Linked DNA regions of Homo sapiens: region 1 is linked to region 2. Evidence: promoter capture Hi-C in 16 types of primary human blood cells and fetal thymus (Javierre and others, 2016). All regions are on one chromosome and are shown on one strand. The core of a region is centred on a gene start or on the middle of the fragment in contact, and the rest is flanking DNA. Distances in the headings are between cores, read along the strand shown. Region 1 holds the start of CLYBL (citramalyl-CoA lyase). Region 2 holds the start of TPP2 (tripeptidyl peptidase 2).

Region 1 (4,286 bases), core at 853-3,352, 3.0 Mb after region 2:
AATGGAGGCAAAAAGACAGTGCGATAATACGCTTTAAAATGCTCAAAGGAAAAAAAATGCCAATCAAGAATCCTATATTCAGCGGGTAGACATGTCGAGAACAGACCAGTGTGCTAAGGCGGGTGAGGAGCACTGAGTTAACCCCCAGCGTACTGGCGTGGGGACTGTGTGCGCTCACTGGACCCGCTACTGAACAGGTCACAGACGCTGGCCCCCTCAAAAGGCGCCAGAAAAGGACCCTTCTGGACCAGCCTGGATACACTGCCTGAGCTGCTCCTCTAGGGCGAGGGGTGACTCCCCTGTGCCAGGGGCAGCGGAGGAAATGGGAAAGTGGGATGCATAAGACTAGGTGGGTCCTCCCATAGGACATGGGTGACTGAAGAGTCACAGTGCAAGAAGACGTAAGAAGTTCAGACCCAGGCCGGGCACGGTGGCTCACGCCTTTAATCCCAACACTTTGGGAGGCCGAGGCAGGTGGATCACCCGAGGTCAGGAGCTCCAGACCAGCCTGGCCAACATGGTGAAACCTCGTCTCTATTAAAAATACAAAAATTAGCCGGGCATGGTGGCGGACGCCCTGTAATCCCAACTACTCCGGAGGCTGCGGCAGGAGAATCACTTGAATCCGGGAGGCGGAGGTTGCAGTCAGCTGAGATGGCGCCATTGCACTCCAGCCTGGGCGACAAAAGCGAAACTCCATCTCGGAAAAAAAAAAAAAAAAAAAAAAAAAGAAGTTCCAGACCACCAGGCCGGCCATGGTGGCTCACGCCTGTAATCCCAGCACTTTGGGAGGCTGATCCGGGTGGACCCCCTTGAGGTCAGGAGTTCGAGAACAGCCTGGCCAACATGGCGAAACTCTGTCTCTACTAAAAATACAAAAATTAGCCAGGGGTGGTGGTGCACACCTGTAATGCCAGCCACTCAGGAGGCTGAGGCATGAGAATCGCTTGAACCCAGGAGGTGGAGGTTGCAGTAAGCCGAGATTACACCACTGTACTACAGCCTAGGTGACAGACCGAGACTCTGTCTCAAAAAATAAAAATAAATAAATAAAGAAGTTCCAGACCAGGAGCCATACACTTAGTGTTTGAACCAAACTCTCTCATTACTGGTCATAGGGCTTTGAGAATCCTTAACCTTTCTGACCCTGTTTTTTCATCTTTATAAACATGACACCCAACTTCTTCACATGGTGGTCAAGGGAACCAAATGAGACCATGTATGTGCACGTACCTAGGCGATGGGCAAGTGCTAGACCAGCGGTTCTCAAAGTGTGGTCCAAAGACACCTGAGGGGGTCCCTGAGACCCGTTGAGAGGGTCTGCTTGGTCCTCCCTTTCCCAACTAATATCTGCATCTGCATGAGCCCAGAATTTCTTTCAAATATTTCCTTCAAAACAGCTGATATGAGACTCCAGCTGTCCTTTATTAAACCAAAGAAATTTTCAAAAATATAAAAACCATGAGCCAATCTTCTCACTTTTTTTTTGAGAAGTTATGCATTAAAGTGTTATTTGTATTAAAAGTTAATGGGTTTGTTATTAAGTGAATATTTTTTAAATTTCTGGTTTAATTCCTCATGCACAAAAATCAATAGATATAAGCAAAAGCTTTGGGGGGTCCTCAAATTATTTTTAGACGTGTAAACGGGTCCTGAGACCAAACCGTTTGGGAACCGCTGTGTTAAACGAACCGCAGGTGTTCTTCACCAGGCAAGCCGCCTCTCAAAGACTGGCGCGTTCACGTTTGCCATTTGGGGGAGGCAGGCAGTTTTGTTTCCTGGGGCTGAGTCCAGGTAATTCGACCTAAGGTGTGTACCCATTTTCCGGGTGCAACGAGGGCCCTCCCAAAGGGAGGCGCGGGCGGCAGCGACCTTGGACGAGGTCGAGCCAGCGCGTGGGAGGCGCATGGTGCTTCCGTCCGGCTGGGTTCCCGTGAGGGCTTGGGGAGGCCGCGCCCGGCCCGCGGGGCTGCAACAGGAGCCGACCCGCGGCGAGCCGGGCCGGGAAGGCGGGGAACGGGGACCTGCACTCACAGCCTCAGCAGCGCCGCCGCCGCAGCTCCGCGCGCCGCCCTCCGCAGCAGACGTAGCGCCATCTTCCCGACGCGCGCGCCCCGCCCTTTGCCTTTAGCCACGCCCACCCCACATTCCACGCCCCCACGGCGACACCGACCCCCCCCCCGTCCCAGGCCCCGCCTCGCTCTGTCTTCGCCCCGCCCCGTCCCGCCAGCCACACCCCGCCAGCCACGCCCTCCTTCCTCCCAGCACCCGCTCCGCCCCGCGGCGAGTCCCGAGGTCAACTGCCCTCCCGGCCAGGGCTTAGGACCTTCGTCCCCGCTGTCATGGGGGACAGAGCAGAGGATCTGAATGGTTGGGGCCTCTTTGAGGGGCCTCTCTGGTGACCGAATCCAACTCTCTGAGCTTCTGAGTTTTTGAGGCAACTGTTGACAGACTGCGTTTTCCCAGCCAGAAGAGCCAACATTTCTAGGGATTTCTTCGCAGCTTTTGTTGTTAAAATACCGCCTAATACTTTGTGAGCCCCATCATGTGCATATCTTGGTTAGCAATTAATCTAGAGTGGTCAAAGTGCAGGAAGGCTGCATCCTGGAACACACATGCCTGCAATAGGTCAGAGCAGCTGTTGGCACTCTCTGGGCAGGGAAACTGACAGCAGCTCTTTACTCTGCCCCCTGCAGCCGTTCTGCAGCGGTGAGAACGCCGAGGCGTTAAAACAGGCTGGGCCCTGCCCCTGCCTCTTCTTTCACCTTCCCTGATCCAGCCGGCCTCCACCTGCCGACCTTCACCTACCCGGGCCCATGTTACCCCTTAACCATGTCTTTTCCTTGGCACTCGGCATGTTTCTTTTTCAGCTGTGACTCCGTTCCATTCATGCTCTAGACTTAAACCTGAAACCGTTTCTCAGAACCTTCCAGTGGAAGCTGACTTGTGCTCTTGGATGCAAAAAGTGGCCGTTTAAACAAACAAAAGCCTTTTCAGCCAGAGGGGGTTCCAAGATTTGGAAAAGTCCAGGTGACTGGGAACATGGATGCTAAACTTCTGCTGAGCCTAAGAATTATTGTTATATTCGATACCAACAGGGGAGACTGCTCAACCCCTTGGTGCCCTCCCCCAGCTCCCACGCCTGCTCCACCTCAGGCCTCGCCTGTCTACTCCAATTTGGTCACTTTCTTGTCACCACCTTAGTCCCAGCCAGTGCCCGGTCCAGCCATACTGAAGCCTGAGGCAAAGGCAATTTCAGTAACACCAATCCTGTCTTTAATTAAAATTTTGATATTTTGTTCATAATGGGATTTTTCCATTATCTTGGTTTTTAGTTTAGAATATTACTTTTTTTTTTTTTTTGAGACAGTCTTGCTCTGTCGCCCAGGCTGTAGTGCAGTGGCACGATCTCAGCTCACACACTGTAACCTCCACCTCCTAGGCTTGAGTGATTCTCACCCCTCAGCCTCCTGAGTAGCTGGGACTACAGGCAAGTGCCACCACTTCCAACTAATTGTTTTGTATTTTTAGTAGAGATAGGGTTTCACCATGTTGGCTAGGCTGGTCTCGAACTCGTGGCCTCAAGTGATCCATCCGCGTCAGCCTCCCAAAGTGCTGGGCTTACAGGCATGAGCCACCATGCCAGGCCAATATTACTTATCTTTTTTTTTTTTTTTTTTTCTGAGATGGAGTCTCGCTCTGTCGCCCAGGCTGGAGTGCAGTAATTACTGAGACTTCTCCTTAAATTTTGCATCCCAGGCTGGGGCTGCACTCACCTCACTCAAGTCTGATTCTGGACATCATCATCCTTTACCTGGATTATTTCAAAGCCTCCTTGCTCCCATTCTTCCCTCCTACAATCACCCGTTTGCCATAAAACCTGGCTGACCTTTTAAAAGCATGACGCAGCTCCTAGTTCCAGAGTTGACTTGCTGTGTGACTTTGGTCAAGTTTCTTAAGCTCTCTGTTTCCTCATCTATAAAATGGGGGTATAAATACCTCATCACCTCATAGGCTTGTTATAATGATAGACTGAGTTTACATATACATAGAGAGAGACTGCACACTTAAAATCTAAGCAAGTTCTCAGTAGTGTTAACTATTCCTCATTATTATTGTCATTGCATCGCTTCCCTTCTTAAAACCCTTTAGTGGCTTTAGAATAAAATCCGAGTTCTTCCCCATGACCCTTAAAGCCTCACACGGTCTGGCCCCTGCCAGCCTCTCCAATTTATCTCCAGCCCCACTCATCTTCTGTCTGTGTTTTCTAAGTCCACGAGGCTCTC
Region 2 (4,481 bases), core at 1,982-4,481:
GTAAGAATGAAATGTTCAAGGGGAGGCAAAGGATGAAAGGTGGGGATGAAGGGGCTATGGACATAAGAAATGATGAGAACTGAGGCTACATAAGGAGGCCAGAGTTGGATGGCAAATGGCCTCATATATACCATTCAATTTTTTTTTTTAATTTTTACACAAAAGCAGTTGAGATTCCAAAATGGCTTTGTTTTAAATGAGGGTATAATACAAGGTTTTTTTTTTTTTTTAAGGAATCTAACTCTAGAAATGTGAAGGATGGATCAAAGAGAAACAAGACTGGTGGAAGGGAGACCTCCTGGCTATTGCATACATATATTCTGGTCTAGTCCAAGTTCCATCTGGTCTGTGAAACCTGACCAGTCCAGCTCTTACTGGCCAATGCTGCCCCAATCCCTGCCCCATCCCCCCAATAATCCTTGTCAATCTCTGCAAGAGTGACAGTTTGCAAGACTATATCATTTAACACAAACTTAGGCACCTGGTAGGTGCCTGAATATCTGCTGAGGAAATATGAAATCACTTACGTAACTACTACTCTTCTCATGCCACCCATCCTCCACTTGATCATGCCCACAGACCTGTCACAAAAGAATTGGGCCCAAGGAAGTCACCAAAGACTGAGACAACCCACTGTGTTCTTCCACGTTTTCACTTGTGCCTCTAGTCCTTTATTCAGACCCCACCCGGCTTTCCAAACTGCCAGTTCAGCCTCATCTTCCTCCTATTTCATTCTTTCCTTCCTTTTTCTTTCTATCCATCCTCTAATCTTAATGATGTACACATATATCTACAAAATAAATCTGTTAAAGGTACAGGAAAAAAAAATCCTCACGTTTGCAAGCCACCGTACCCAATTTCTTTTAACTGGCTATGTTTAGGCCAATATCTGAGTCAAGGTTGTTAAAAGAGAAGACTTATGCTTTCATTTTATTTCAATATTTTATCATCTGAATATTTATTACATGCAAATATCTAACATATATTTACCCTCCAAATAGTTGGTGATGAAAGATCCAGCATAAACTTCTATTCACTTATGGTGGGAGCTAAATATTGAGTACACATGGACACAAAGACGGGAACAACAGATACTGGGGATCCCAAAGGGAAGGGGTGGAAATAAGACTGAAACACTACCTACTGGGTACCACGCTCACTACCTGGGTGACAGGATCAATCACACCCCAAACCTTAACATCAGGCAATACCCCCATGTAACAAACCTGTACTTCTACCTTCTGAATCTAAAATAAAAGTTGAAATTATATATACAAAAAAGAATAAATATCATTGCCAAAATAGTTTAATATTTTTCTTGAGCATTTAAAAAAGTCACATGTAATTAGCCAGTCCTCTTATAATCAATTTTCACAACAAGGCTGTGGGGTGAAAATTATTGTTACTTTAGAGAGAGTAACAGAATAATGTGAGAAACAGATCTGGAAATTCTACCAACAAATTCTACCAAGCAGCACTTCTCCAAACTTTTCTGACCCTCTTATTATCCTGACAAAAGAACCGGTGAACCACTTATCCCAGCTGTTTTCCTCCCACTCATCCTATAAAAAGTAAACACACTCCACAGCTGAATGAAAAGCATTATTACTTTGTAATAAAGCCCCAAATGAGTTGATAGCTGTCATTGTTCTAAGTCTTTAAGTTATTAATACAACGACAACTATATAACTCCAGTTACCGGGAGGGAATTCAGTACCTGATCCTCTTCTGATTCACAAAAGATGTGCTGTACTCCAGAGTGGTGCTGAAGAACACACACCAGGAATCAAGATTCCCAGGGGTTTCTAAGCAGATTCGGCCAGACTCCCCCTCGTTACTTCCAAAATGCTACCTCAATAATCAGAAAGCACGATAAAGGATCCAGAAGGGAAGGGACATTGTGGGGAGGAGGATGAGTGTTTAGTGTAGAAAGGAGGATAAGATAGCCAGGGGCTGATCAACGAGAGATCAGCATACAGTAGGATTAGTCAGGGATGCTGGGAGATGGATCTTGAATAACGGTGAAATTTTATTACTGGATTTCAGTAAAGGGTTAAAAGTACAAAAGTTAAACTTTAAAGACTTTAAACAGAATGCTTTTAACGAGAGACAACATACTTTCAAAAAAACTACCTTCTGGTATGATACCTTGAATCTACAGATTTTAAAGTTGCCTAAGGCAAAAAACTAAGTAATTTTTAAAAACCGTCGTATGTTTTCAGGTTTAAAAAAAAAAAAGTCGCATATTTTCATAAGGTCTGAGAAGCTCGCCAAAACCAAACCTAACTGAATTCTCCTTATGTAAACGAAGACTAAGCCACAAGATTCAATGACCCTAAGCAAACACGCTGCAGAAGACCGTTTAAAAATAGAATACACAAAACTACCACAGGAAACAATTCCGGAAGAGGACTGGGTTATCTTCTGGAAACCCAGCTTTCGTGCTTAAAGACAAACTATTCTTCCCCAAACCAAATCTCCCGATCCCTAAACATTAAGTTCTCACATGTCAGTTGCCTATCTGGTGTCTCCACCCCACCCCAATGATAAAAGCTGTAAAATTCTCTTTAAAAACGTCAGGCTGGGACCGGTGTCCGAGGCACGAGGGGTAGGCAGAGGAAGGCGGCGTGGAGGGAAGGAGCCTGGGGGGTCCGGCCTGGCAGCGCCGAAGCGAGAAGGAAGGGGAGTCCCTGGGGCCAAAGGGGGACCCAGGCTTCCCCAGGCAGCCGCGCCGGGCACGCTGCTTTTGTTGAGCTGGGGGGACCACGGCCCAACCTGGGGTCCGGGCCCTCGCCCGCCCAGCGACCCTGGCACTGTGCGCCGTTGAGTCCCCTTGGCGGGCGCCCGTCCCTCCCGCGCCTGGCTCTGACCTCTGCCCACCCCGGTGCTGCCCACCCCGGCCCGGACTCGGCCGCAGAGCGGGGCTTTGGCCTGCCGGGCTCCGAGACTGTGTCCCCACCCGCGTCCCCGGCCGCCCGCGCCCCCGCGCCCGGGCCCTCGGGGGCCGCCTCACCTGCATGCCCGGAGCCCCCGGGTCGACCCCCGTGTCCAGGACTGCGATGAGCACCCCCCGCCCATCATACTCCGGGTAGCGGCAGAGGAAGGAGGCGGCTCCGGTCTCCTTCTTCGGCAGGAGACCGTGAAAAGGGAAGGGCTCCTCAGTCGCAGCGGTGGCCATGGACGCAGGATGGAGGACGAGGAAGCGGCAAACTGCCAGGCTGCGCGCGGACTAGCAGCGCGAGGACACCCGTGCGGCCTCGGGCCGGAGGCGGGGGCGAGGGGCGGGGTCGGCCCGTCTTCCACCAATCCCGGCCTGCCAGGGAGCGGTGGCCAATCACGTGCTGCTACGTAAGCCAACGGCGCCGCTCTCAGGAGCTAGGCCCGAGTATTGCCCGGGCTGCAGTGAAGGGGGAGGAGTCTGAGGACATTACTGGAGGGTTCGGATCTCGAACCTGGGGCCTTGAAGAGGCCCGCGCTTGGGGTTTTTAGGCAACAGCAGGCCTCCAAGCAGAGTCCTGGTGTCCCGGACCGAATCACTCCCCGAGAGACGGGCAAGGAGATGGACCGCCAGCCAGGAATAATGGGAACCCTTCGCTTGGCAAACGATAGTTTCCAAACTTAAGGTTGTGGATGAAACTTTTTGGTGCGGCTGCTGCAGGAGCCCCAGCCCCGGGGTGCTGCTGACCCGAGGCAAGGGAGCCGGCGCACTCACGCTTAGCCGCTAAGGAGTCTGCGGTGTCGGCGAAAGCTCCGGACATGATTTTGGAAGGTCGTAGGTTAAGGGGTGTAGACTTTGGGTTCCCCTGTGTTGTTATGCCCCTTTGATGGGGGTGAGGTGGTGAGGGGGAGCAATAGGGTGGAGACAGGCAATAGTTTCAGTCAACAGGAAGTGGGTTGTTGGTCATTCCGTCGCCTTTGTAGCCAGTAACAAAGCACGAGACTGAAATGGGCCCCTCCTATCCTCTGCTGATCCTTAGCTTCCGGGATTTCTGAAAAACATCTTTTTTTTTCCTCTTACACTGAAGTTTCTGATTGCTCCTTACGGCTGTCCACTCAATTATAGAGCCATAATTTTCAGTTTTCCAGATTCACAGTGCCTGCCGTCAGTTGCTGCAAGCTGCATAGTGGTCCTCTAATGATCTTTATGTCTATGCTCATGCCAGGGTAATCTTAGCCTTTTATTGTGCCGAAGACCCCTTTGGCAATCTGGTGAGGCCTATTTCTCAAGCAGTGTTTTAAAATGCATACAATGAAATAGATAGGATTACCCAGGAAATAAATTATGTTTAAATGCAGTTATCAAAAATACTAAAGGCAATTTTGTTATATAGCAGGAGCTTTACGTGTGTGTGTATAGTTACAGGTGTACTTCTTTTGCATTAAATAACAGGAGCTAGGGCCAAGGCTAATAAACTACCATAACTTCAAAATAGTGAAGAATATAATTATTTGGAGATAGCGGTGAAAACTGCACTACGATG

The links. Contacts are between HindIII fragments. The CHiCAGO score rates a contact against its expected background, and 5 or more counts as called.
Region 1: a contact is called between the fragment with the promoter of CLYBL here and the fragment with the promoter of TPP2 in region 2, in 2 of 17 cell types (M0 macrophages and fetal thymus). The highest score is 8.6, in M0 macrophages.

The regions. Positions count from the first base shown.
Region 1 is chr13:99,604,506-99,608,791 of GRCh38, reverse strand. It overlaps CLYBL (citramalyl-CoA lyase), which reads right to left and starts at 2,102. Exons shown (of 9, transcript NM_206808.5): 1 at 2,035-2,102. The coding sequence starts at 2,096. LOC105370332 (a long non-coding RNA gene) reads left to right here and starts at 2,943. Exons shown (of 3, transcript XR_931674.3): 1 at 2,943-3,030. RefSeq lists a silencer at 1,762-2,321 and enhancers at 2,043-2,337, 2,260-3,239. The HindIII fragment of the contact is 13,725 bases long and covers 1,612-4,286 here.
Region 2 is chr13:102,595,736-102,600,216 of GRCh38, reverse strand. It overlaps TPP2 (tripeptidyl peptidase 2), which reads right to left and starts at 3,231. Exons shown (of 30, transcript NM_001330588.2): 1 at 3,014-3,231. The coding sequence starts at 3,178. It overlaps LOC107984588 (a long non-coding RNA gene), which reads left to right and starts at 3,275. Exons shown (of 2, transcript XR_001749984.3): 1 at 3,275-3,769. RefSeq lists silencers at 2,718-3,007, 3,168-3,457 and enhancers at 3,528-3,587, 3,638-3,797. The HindIII fragment of the contact is 7,622 bases long and covers 1-4,481 here.